Regions from separate parts of the Homo sapiens genome. Here all the other regions are linked to region 2. Evidence: promoter capture Hi-C in 16 types of primary human blood cells and fetal thymus (Javierre and others, 2016). All regions are on one chromosome and are shown on one strand. Each heading gives the region's core, a stretch centred on a gene start or on the middle of the fragment in contact. The rest is flanking DNA. Distances are from core to core; before and after follow the strand shown. Region 1 holds the start of DCAF4 (DDB1 and CUL4 associated factor 4). Region 2 holds the start of NPC2 (NPC intracellular cholesterol transporter 2). Region 3 holds the start of BATF (basic leucine zipper ATF-like transcription factor).

What was found. The method cuts DNA at HindIII sites, captures the fragments that hold promoters and counts their contacts. A CHiCAGO score of 5 or more calls a contact.
Region 1: a contact is called between the fragment with the promoter of DCAF4 here and the fragment with the promoter of NPC2 in region 2, in 1 of 17 cell types (non-activated CD4 T cells). The highest score is 7.3, in non-activated CD4 T cells.
Region 3: a contact is called between the fragment with the promoter of BATF here and the fragment with the promoter of NPC2 in region 2, in 1 of 17 cell types (total CD8 T cells). The highest score is 5.4, in total CD8 T cells.

Annotation. Positions count from the first base shown.
Region 1 is chr14:72,924,254-72,927,713 of GRCh38, reverse strand. It overlaps DCAF4 (DDB1 and CUL4 associated factor 4), which reads right to left and starts at 1,250. Exons shown (of 14, transcript NM_015604.4): 1 at 1,171-1,250. RefSeq lists enhancers at 1-540, 1,212-1,481, 1,772-1,871, 2,272-3,138 and a silencer at 982-1,041. The HindIII fragment of the contact is 1,582 bases long and covers 757-2,338 here.
Region 2 is chr14:74,491,245-74,494,822 of GRCh38, reverse strand. It overlaps NPC2 (NPC intracellular cholesterol transporter 2), which reads left to right and starts at 1,518. Exons shown (of 5, transcript NM_006432.5): 1 at 1,518-1,630. The coding sequence starts at 1,549. ISCA2 (iron-sulfur cluster assembly 2) reads right to left here and starts at 1,058. Exons shown (of 4, transcript NM_194279.4): 1 at 978-1,058; 2 at 671-773; 3 at 433-548. The coding sequence starts at 1,048. RefSeq lists an enhancer at 976-1,055 and silencers at 1,256-1,535, 1,706-1,765. The HindIII fragment of the contact is 4,485 bases long and covers 1-3,578 here.
Region 3 is chr14:75,520,675-75,524,038 of GRCh38, reverse strand. BATF (basic leucine zipper ATF-like transcription factor) reads right to left here and starts at 1,570. Exons shown (of 3, transcript NM_006399.5): 1 at 1,294-1,570. The coding sequence starts at 1,356. RefSeq lists an enhancer at 1,273-1,602. The HindIII fragment of the contact is 2,331 bases long and covers 1,023-3,353 here.

The DNA of each region.
Region 1 (3,460 bases), core at 1-2,500, 1.6 Mb after region 2:
AACAGGGATTCCACCTCTGTTGGTAGGACCCCCAGGCCTGGTTACCCACAGAACACCACCTCAGGCCGGGCGCGGTGGCTCACGCCTGTAATCCCAGCACTTTGGGAGGCCGAGGCGGGCGGATCACGAGGTCAGGAGATCGAGACCATCCTGGCTAACACGGTGAAACCCCGTCTCTACTAAAAATACAAAAAATTAGCCGGGCGAGGTGGTGGTCGCCTGTAGCCCCAGCTACGCGGGAAGCTGAGGCAGGAGAATGGCGTGAACCCCGGGGGCGGAGGCTGCAGTGAGTCGAGATCGTGCCACTGCACTCCAGCCTGGGCGACAGCGAGACTCCGCCTCAAAAAAAAAAAAAAAAAAAAAAAAAAAAGAACACCACCGCGACTCTAATTTCCATCGTTATTTAAAATCAGAGTTTGGGACTTTGGAATTGTTTCCTCTAGGAAGCCGTCCCCTCAGTTTTCTTTGCTTCTGGCTGCGCTGCTGGAGTCACAAGACAATGCCTGTAGAACACCATGGTGAAAGGCGTCATGGTTTCTGAAGCCCCCGGGGAGCCCACGAGGCGTGGCTTTCTCGCTAACTCACAACTCAGAGTGGAGGCGAGGGCCAAACCCAGGCCCCATCACTTGCTAGTTGTGCGCTACCCCGACGGACAACCAAACTGCACCCCTTTCTGCGTCTGACAAGGACATCATAGCGCTGGCAAATGTTAGCGCCTGTGAAGCCGGCAGCACAGAGCCGGCCACTTCGTAAGCTTCAACCACACCTAACCTGTTATGCTGACCTGAACATTCACAGGGGACACCGCCCCAAGGCCCGCAGCCCAGCCCCCGCCAGGTGTCGGGTGGGGCCTTCAGCAGCAGGTCTCAGAGAAGCGCTTAGAGAAACGCCCTCAGCGGCGACACTCGGGGTGCCCTCCCTGCGTGTTTACGGTTGCAGCACTGATCCGGCCGGAGGGCCCCACGCGCCCCAGAACGGGCGGAGCGCGCCGGCCCAGCTGCCACCTAGGCCCGGTGGCGCCGGCGTTCCACGTGCTCACTCCTCCCCGCCCCTCCCCGCCCCTTTCCCTGGCCTTCCTCGCCGCGCCTGTCTCCCACCCCGAGCTCTGCAGCGGGAGCGCGGCAGCCCTCGAATCGATGCCAGTAGGCACCCCAGGCAGCACAGTCTTACCTGTTCAGCGTGTCCCTTCCGGATTCCCCTCCGGCTCAGCTCTGCAGGAGTTGGAGCGAAGCGTGCAAGGACCCGGAAAGACCAAGGTGTAGCGTCAGCCAGTTAGGTGGATGCGTTTTGGTGTTGTAGCAGCCGATAGGGCTATAGCGGCCGTTCTTTCCTTCTCACTGGACGCGGCTTCTGTCTGTCGACGTCAATAGGGACGATCTCATGAAGAAGGCGGGGAGTGGGGCTTCGGCTCCTCCCAGGCCTGGCCTGTCTGGGGCGGATGCACGTGGAGGCTGGTCATGGAGCGCTTGGGGGTGGGGCCAGGCGCACGCGGGGGCGGGGCCGGGGGCTGCTCCCGGAGCAGCGGAACTGTCTGGAGACCCTTTCGTGAGAGACCGTGTCTTCCTCCCTCCGCAGGGTGATGCGGCCCTGGAGAAGTCCTCTCGCTGTAGTGGAAAGAGCGAAGGAGTCTGTGAGGCGAGGGACAGAAGTAACGTGATGTTACGACTGGCGGCGAAGTCTTCGGCAGTGGCCTCAGGCGGCCGAGGCCGCTGCCCTGGGTCTGCGTTCAGGGTGTAGCGTAGCGAGCCCTGACCGTGAAACCGGGGGGCCTCCGTGTTGGCTCCAGTACTGCTGCTTGCTGTGGGACCTAGGGCGAGTCTCTTCCCTTCTCTGTGCCTTGATTTCTTCTGTTGAGAGAAGGAATCGGATCTATCATTCTCATGTCCTCTCCAGCTTAGAGTTTGTTCAGACCACCAATATTTCTAGAATGACCTATGTGTGCTGTGCCTGTCCCAGGTATCAGCTGACGGTTATGAGATCTTATGAAAGGAAAACGGAAGCCTCTGATGGGCTTGTGTCCCGAAGAGACAGTTTGTGAGGACAGCTGGATTCACAGAGGCTAGGCTTGTTGGGGTCCAGCAGTAGGCCTGGTGTGTCATGCGGCTCCGTAACACAGGCCCCTGCCCGCGGCTTGGACCCGTTAGAAAGCAGGCGGTGGGGTTCACCCATTGCACGCCGTGCGAAGGCATTTCAGCTCTTAACCAGGAAGCTAGGATTTCAGGCTAAACTCCTGGCTCTCAGGAGTTTATAGATAAATGCAGTATGTGGAGCGGGGCCGGGTGATGAGGGAAATGAGAGAAGTGGGCATAGTCAGAATAAAGAACCGCTTCATGAAGCTTGAGCGGCCTTGAAGAGAAGGCAGAGAAAAATTCTAGCTGAACAAACAACGTGACTGGAGGCCGGTTCAAGCCGGCTGGATGGGAGGGGAGTCTTGGAAGGAAAACTCAGCAGGGTGGGTTGGGGCTTGGTGACGCAGCAATTGCCAGGGAAAGAGTAGTCAGGCCGGGTGCAGTGGCTCACGCCTGAAATCCCAGCACATTGGGAGGTTGAGGCGGGTGGATCACTTGAGGCTAGGAGTTCCAGACCAGCCTGGCCAACATGGCGAAACCCCCAACTCTACTAAAAATACAAAAAATTAGCCGGGCGTGGTGGCGGGCGCCTGTAATCCCAGCTACTCAGGAGGCTGAGGCAGGAGAATTGCTTGAACCCGGGAGGCGGGGGTTGCAGTGAGCCGAGATAGCGCCATTGCACTCCAGCCTGGGTGACAGAGTGAGACCCTGTCTCAAGAAAAAAAAAAGTAGACAATGGGAGGCTCTGAGGGTTCTAGAGTTGGGAAGTGACAGGACTAGAGCTGTGCTTCTGGGAAATCACCGTGTAGGGGGTTGGGGAGAAAAGATTGTGGAAGTCAGCTGGGAGACCCCTAAGGAACTTATTGCAGCAACAGTCCTTGTGAAAGGTAGTGAGGGCCAAACCAGGGTGGGGGTAGCCAGGATGGAAGGGGGGTACAGATGGGAGGCAGAATTCAGAGGGAGAATCGGCCAGACTTAACTCTCGGGGAGGAGTCAAGCTGGATTTTCCACTGAAGAGCCAGGGGACACTTGAGGAAGGTGGCAGGAGGAGTTGGCTTGGGCTTGCTGAGTCAATGAGTGGCTGGCAGCCGGCCAGCAGGCTCTGTTGAATGTCCACAGAGGGGACAGTGACGTGGGCATGAGATATACCTCGGGGACCTGCAACACACACAGATGAAAGATTAAAGAATGTTTGCAAATCAGTGAACAAATGAAGCTTGCTGGGCCTTGGGCAAGTCATGAGGCATTCCAACCTCAGTTTCTTCACAGATTAGAATGAGGATAAGACATCTACTGAGAAAGGTTGTAAGGAGTAAGCGCTGATGATGGAGTACCTCACCCAGGACTTGGTGCACAGCGCCCATTGGTTAAGCACCCGCGATTATAAAGGT
Region 2 (3,578 bases), core at 269-2,768:
AAAAGACAGGAGGAAGGCATTAAGGAGTATCGCAAACACAAAAAAGACACCCCCTGAGCCCAGAGGTGCACATCCTCTGTTTTCTAAAGTACAGAGGGAGCTTCCCCATTACCTTTAACAGGTGCTGATTTTCTTTGAGGCAAAATGATTCAATGGAATAAATACTGGGAAACGTGTAGGGACTTAAGCCTGGAATCTAGTCCGGCCTGACTTTCTACCGACTACCCAATGGACCTGGGCAGATCAATTTTGCTCCTATAACTTAGTTACTTTGATTCAGAACAACAAACCTTTACTGCATCCTCACTGTGAGACGGGCGGTGTTAACCATCCCAGGTAAACCCTTTAAATTTGGAATAAAAGTGCACCTTAAACTGGAGACACTTTTGTCCCTCCTGTACCTCCTTTGGGGGCCCACCCCTTCCTCCTTGCCTGTCGTCGGGGTTGATAACTGTATCCAGTGAAAATTTGTATTGGAATCCGGAGCATCCACCTCCCTCCACTTGCAGCCTGAGGAATTCTGACCCTTCGGTGATTTCCAAAAGCCTCTGAAATGCAGGAAGGGGGATCAAGAATAGCGGGAAACGGGAGTTAAAGGGCTGAGTGAAGAGCAGTTCCCGCTGCTCCCGCCAATCGCCTGGGTACCGCCGCTCCGCGTCCGGCCTCCTACCTGGACGCAACTGTCTGTGAGGCGGATCTGCCCTTCGCCGGCCTCGGGGCTGGAGGACGACGCCTCCCGACGCGCCTGGGGTCCCAGGGAGGCCGTGAGGAGCCTGCGCGCAAGGGAGGAGGGTGAGCCCGGGAGCAGAAGGGGCACCTTGCAACCCTCGACCTGGAGCGCCTCACGCTAAACCTGGCGACCCCCACCTGGACGGCCTCCCACCAAACCCTCGCATCCCCCACAGGCCTTAGTTTCCCATTTGTCCTAGAGGCGCAGAACCAAACACCCTTTCCAGGTGCCTTTCTAGTCTTGGTACCTGCCCCTCGGCCAGGGAGTGACCGCTCTCTGCGTCGCGGCCGTTAGGGACGACCCCCAGGCGGCAGCCATCTTCCTCCACAAGCTCCGCCCCTCGCGTCTCCCCCGTTTCTCACCCGGGGCCTCGGGAGGCGGAGAGAACGAACAGGAGGCCGGGACTTCACGGAGGCCCCGCCCCCCCAACATGCCTATTGGGTAGTGCGGGAGGAGAAGGTGTCTGATTGGCTAGGAATGCTCCAGACGGCAGCGGCGGGGACGCACCCAGGAAGCCGGAGAGGTGCTCTAAAGGGAAGGAACGGGGCGGGGAGGAGTGAGGCGGGGCGGGGCGGAGGTGGGTCCGGGCGGGTCAGGCCTCTGAGGGGATGGCATGGGCGGAGACTGCAGGCTTCTGGGCCTGAGAGGGCTGGAGCTGGCTTTCCGGAGCCGGGGGCGGGGCGCGGGCGGGCCTCAGCTGTGGTTACTGGTGACAGGTCGCCTGACTGGGCTCCTCCCCGGGCCCGCCCCGACAGGTTTGTCTTGTGACCGCGGGCGGCCGCTGCTTCTTTCCCGAGCTTGGAACTTCGTTATCCGCGATGCGTTTCCTGGCAGCTACATTCCTGCTCCTGGCGCTCAGCACCGCTGCCCAGGCCGAACCGGTGCAGTTCAAGGACTGCGGTGAGCCCCAGGCCCGCCCAAGGTTCCCGCGCCCTCTGTGGAAGGCCCCGCCGGACCCCCGCGCTGAGACCCCTGGGGCTGGGCTGGGCGGATCCCTCGGGCGGCCAGGCTGAGCCTTGGACCCTACCTAACTGGAATGGGCTGGGTCGGGGGAGAAGGCGCCGGCCTCCATGAAACCCGACCGCGCACAACTTTGTTTCTTTCCTTAGAACGCGTGTTTTGGGGTTCCTGGGAACTCCAGGAGGTGGGCCTTTTGCTGAAGTTTCCTAAAGTTTGTAGGGCGGACAACAGAAGGGCTGTATCCAGCTCTGGTGGAGGGGTGGAGCACAGAACTTCTTTTTATTTATGCTTTGTATCTTGGAATCCCGCCTCCCCCTTCCAACTCCTTTTGCTTTTCTTTTAATTTCGTTTTTGCTGACAAGTCAAAAGTCAATTCCCCTTTTTCATCATTTATTGTTACAAATAGGACTTCCTTTGGGCTTTGGAATCTTGTGATTCTTAATCAGTTTTTCCTTGTATAAATCTCATTGTGTCTCTAATCACAGCTTGTGATACATAACTCCCTCTCGCCGCTGTGGTTGGAATCTTTGTTGGAAAATACAACAGGTGGTAGAAATTCTGAGTGCCTTCATTGAGTCGAGTCTATAGAATTGTCGGAACAGAAACTCGAGCAATGTTGTTCAGAGGTGGAGATAGAGAGATAGAACTGTCAATGAAAGAGGCATGAAACTGACTTTGTAAGATCTATGAGTGGAAAGGAAGCACGGAGATCGTATAATCAATCATTGAATTCCAGGGATGTTGGGTAGCCTACCTAAAGTCACGCAGCAGAATGGGGAGCCAGAGTAAGTGTAACCGCCCAAGGGGTTCACCTTGCGCATTGCCTAGACAGAGCGGATTTATCAAGATGGGATTTGCAGTGGCGAAAAGAGTAATTCACGCAGAGCCGGCTGTGGGGGAGGCCGGAGTTTTATTGTTACTCAGATCAGTCTCCCCGAGCATTCGGGGATCAGAGTTTTTAAGGATAATTTGGCGGGTATGGGCTTGGAAAGTGGGGAGTGCTGATTGGTCAGGTTGAAGATAAAATCATAGGAGAGTCGAAGTGAGTTCTTCTTGCTGACCTCTGGGTGGTGTCATTTGCTGCATCGGAATGCAGGATCTGCAAAATATCTCAAGCACTGACCTTAGGTTTTACAATAGTGATATCATTACCAGGAGCAATTTGGGGAGGTTCAGACTCTTACAGCCAGAGGCGGCGTGGCCCCTAAACTCGTAGCTAATTTGTTAGTCCTACAAAGGCAGACCGGTCCCCAGGCAAGAAGGGGTTTTTCAGGAAAGGGCTATTATCCATTTCGTTTCAGAGTTTAAACTATAAATTCCTCTCCAAGACTAGTTCAGCCTACACCCAGGAATGAACAAAGACAGTTTAGAGGTTAGAAGGAAGATGGGTAGGTGAGTCCTGATCTCTTTCACTGTCTTAATTTCCTCAGGATTTTTGCAAAGGCGGTTTCATAAGTTTGCTGCTTTATATCCAGTGCCCAGGTAATAGTAACTGCTCAATGAAATGTGTTGAAAACATAGATGGAAATCTTTTTCCCCTATGTCATAAAAATTCATGTTGAGACAAAAGCAAAGTTGGGGATTAGGGGACAGGATTGATTAAGGAATGGAGTGCTGGCCGATTAACACTTAAATGCTATTCCATTGATTTAGGAGACTGGCACTTGAAAGCTATTATCGCTTCAAATTACTGCCTTTCCCTCCATTAAACTTAGTAGCCAGCGTTTGGATGAAGACACTATTAATTTTAATAACTCATTCCGGCCAGGCACAGTGGCTCACACCTGTAATCCCAGCACTTTGGGAGGCCAAGACGGGCAGATCACGAGGTCAAGAGATTGAGACCATCCTGGCCAACATGGTGAAACCCCATCTCTACTAAAAATAC
Region 3 (3,364 bases), core at 321-2,820, 1.0 Mb before region 2:
TGTCCAATACTTTCAGGCCTTTGTGGTAGGAGGTCATTGGCATAGATAGGAAGGAAGTGCTCTTCCTCTAAGGGGGATGGGGCACCAGGTTACCATGGAAGCCATGAGTAATTTCCTTCCTAAGAAAAGTACAAACTTCCAGGCAGTCAGAGCCACTCTGACACCATCTTGAGCAGCAGACTGGATTCTGTGCCTTCTAGAGGTCTCCACCCAGACTCATCCCAGCCTGCTGCTCCGTTATTAGAGGCTTAGGATATACGCCCTGTTCAATATTTATATACTTTTATTTTGGCTGCAGCATTTTGAAAACCCTTGTGGATATCTGTGCTAAGGAAAGAATGAAGTTTTTAAACTATGAAGGTTGAGAAAATTTTAACCCACGGATACATGTCGGATGAGAAAGAGGAGGGCTTCCTACAGCAAGGGATGTCAAGAGTGTGGTGCAGAACAAAACCCTAGAAGCTGTGAGATGGGCAGGGCACTCCTTTTTTGGTAATCCTCAAGCTAAAACCTTTGGACTTGGAAGTCACAATCTAGACTCCAAATGCTCCCACAATCCCTATCTCAGTCTCTCTGGTTTCCCCAGAGCTAAGATGAACTACCAGCAAATGTCTTCCAACAAATTTCCAGAGCCACCTCCTCATTCATTTCCTTGCTCCTATCCAGAAGCCACAAGCAAAGAGATATTGGCTGGACCTCTAGCATCTCCCCTTGCTGGCTGTGCTAGCAACAGAGGCAGTGCCCCAGTAGAGAGATCCTTCTATGCTAGCCTGGGTTTCTCCTCCTCCTCCTCCTTCTTCCTCTTCTTCTTCTTCTTTTTTTTTTTTTTTAACTTTTCCCTAACCCCTTTTCTCCCCTTCCCTATTGGCTGTCTCCTGGGAAACTGCATATCTAGGATTTGAGCTGTGCATGCCAGCGGCCCACTTGAAAACTCCTCTCACTTTTCTACAGCCTTGGAGAACAGTAGACTCTTTTCTCTGCATTCTTTGATGTTCATCCTCCTCTTTGCTTCCTAGAAAGCTTTTTAGGGTGGCAACCCCAGTGAGGCAGAGGTGATAGGCAGCCTTGGAAAATGGAGAGAAAAAGGGGCTTTGGCAGAATGGGTGGAAGGATGAGGATCTCTGCCAATATGCACAGCTTAGTAGCAAATTCCATGTCCTAAGTCTAACAGAGTGCCCGTGCAACGAGCCACTTCCTCCATCCTCAGCTCCCTGGGCAGGACAAGGAAGCCTGGCTCTCTTTCCATCCCCCAGGAGAATCAGAAGGTAGGAGAGAGAAAAAGGAGGACTCTACCTGTTTGCCAGGGGGAGGAGAGCGGCTGAAGCTGGAGTCACTGCTGTCGGAGCTGTGAGGCATGGCTGAAATCTTCCGGGCTCTCACACTCAGCCCCAGGCACCTCTGGGCTCTCTTGTCACCAGCTGGGCTCCCTTCCTGACTTCTCCTGGGCCACCAGCCCACCACCCCCTACAGGTGCCTCCTCTGCCTGCCCTGTAGCCACCTCTGACCCCTGCGTCCTCCTCACTCTGGGGTGCAGAGGGACTGCTCCCCAAAGGGACATGTCGCTCGCTTTGGGGCTTGCACGCTCTCTCTCTCTCTTGTGGTTTCTGGTAACTCACGCTGGAAGTCACATGGGCGGAAACTTCAGCGAGTTAGAAGTTAGAGAGAAAAATACATATCTGGGAAAAGACCTACAGAATTATGTGAAAGAAAAAAAAATACAGATACCTTCCGACAGTTTGAAAGACACAGCAGCCCTCTTCAATTGATGAAGATAAAAGAGAAAAACAGCCCAGGCAGGGAAAAACCCCAGCCAGAATTAGCAAGTCCGTCTTCTGTCAACATGGGCAGAGAGGAGAGGACAACCAGGAAAATGTTTCCATTGTCATACGACTTGATTTTTAAACCAAAATAAAGCAAAAACACTGGGATTTCTTTCTGGTTTTCAGCCGAAAGCAGCTGCTCACCCATCTTGTCTTTCCTCACCCCTTAAGTCCAGCCAGCCTCGGGGTGGTCTGGAGATAAGACGATCCAAGGGTATTCTCCTTTCCTGACCATCAAACACAAGGGCTGTGGGAGATCAGAAAGCCACAAGGGAGGTTCTAGAATTGCTGCTCTGAAAGCCTATTAAGCGCCTGTGCTGCTTGGCAGGGAGCTCACACTCTTTAGAGAAAAGATGCCTTCCATATTGAGCAGCTCAAGACAGGCCCTGAATCTTTATGATTCAAGGTCACCTGGTCAGAACCCAGAATGCAGAAACAGTTAAAAAAAAAAAAGAAAGAAAGAAAGAAAGAAAAAGTGAAACAAATACTACACTTGGAGTCAGACCAACCAAGATTTAAATTCTGGTTCTACCACTTTGTATGTCTGTGGCCCTGGGTAGCTCACTTGAGCTATGTGACCTTCATTATCTTCATCTGTAAACAGAGGATGATAAAACCTGCCCTGCCTACCTCTTAGGAATGTGGCACAAAGCAAATGACAACGCGGATTAGAATGCCCCGCAGACTCTGAAGTAAATGACCGAGAGGGTAAGTGTAGGGTATTCCCAGCCTTGCCATGAGCGCATTTGTAGGGTTCTCAGTGATCAATTCAACCCTCACCTGGGCATCGTGGCTTTTTCAAAAGGCCTTACCTTATTCCCAGTATGGCTCGAAGCCAAACATTTGCCTTATTAAATTTTAGGATTGACAGGAAGTTACGGCTCCTAGAGGATTTTTGTATCCATGAGCTGAATTTCTAGACTAAGACAATATTGCCCTAAGGTTAAATTAAGTAAGACAAAATTCCTTTCCTATGGAGGAAAATAAAGCAGGGTTGGAGGTTAGGGAATTCTGGGTGGTCAGAAGGGCCTTGCCCAAAGAGGGGATACCTGAGCAGAGATTCGAAGAAAGAGAGGGAGTGAATGGTGAGTGTCTCAGGGAAGGACATTCCAGGACCTGAGGTGGAAGTGTGCTTGAGTATTGGAAAAAGAGCAGGGGGGCCAGGTAGTTGGATATCAGAGGCAGCAAAAGTGGCAGGCGATGAGGTCAGTGAGGTAATGGCCCGGTCAGGGAGGGCCTTAGAGGCCAACATCAGGATTTTAGCTTTCATTCTGAAAGACACAGTGAGCCCATGGAGGGTTTCCCCTTCCACCTTCATTCTTATCCTCTACCTCAGCTACTATTCATTTCTCCCATAGCAGTTACCCAATTTTATACTTATTTTATTCGTTTACTGATTTATCTTTTTCCTGTTTCCCTCAATAGAATGTTAAAACCATTTACACCTTTATTAATATATTCAACAAACGTTCATGGTGCATCTACCATGTGCCAGGCACTAAGTACTGAGGATACAGTTAGTAAAAAGAAGCTTGACTTTTTGT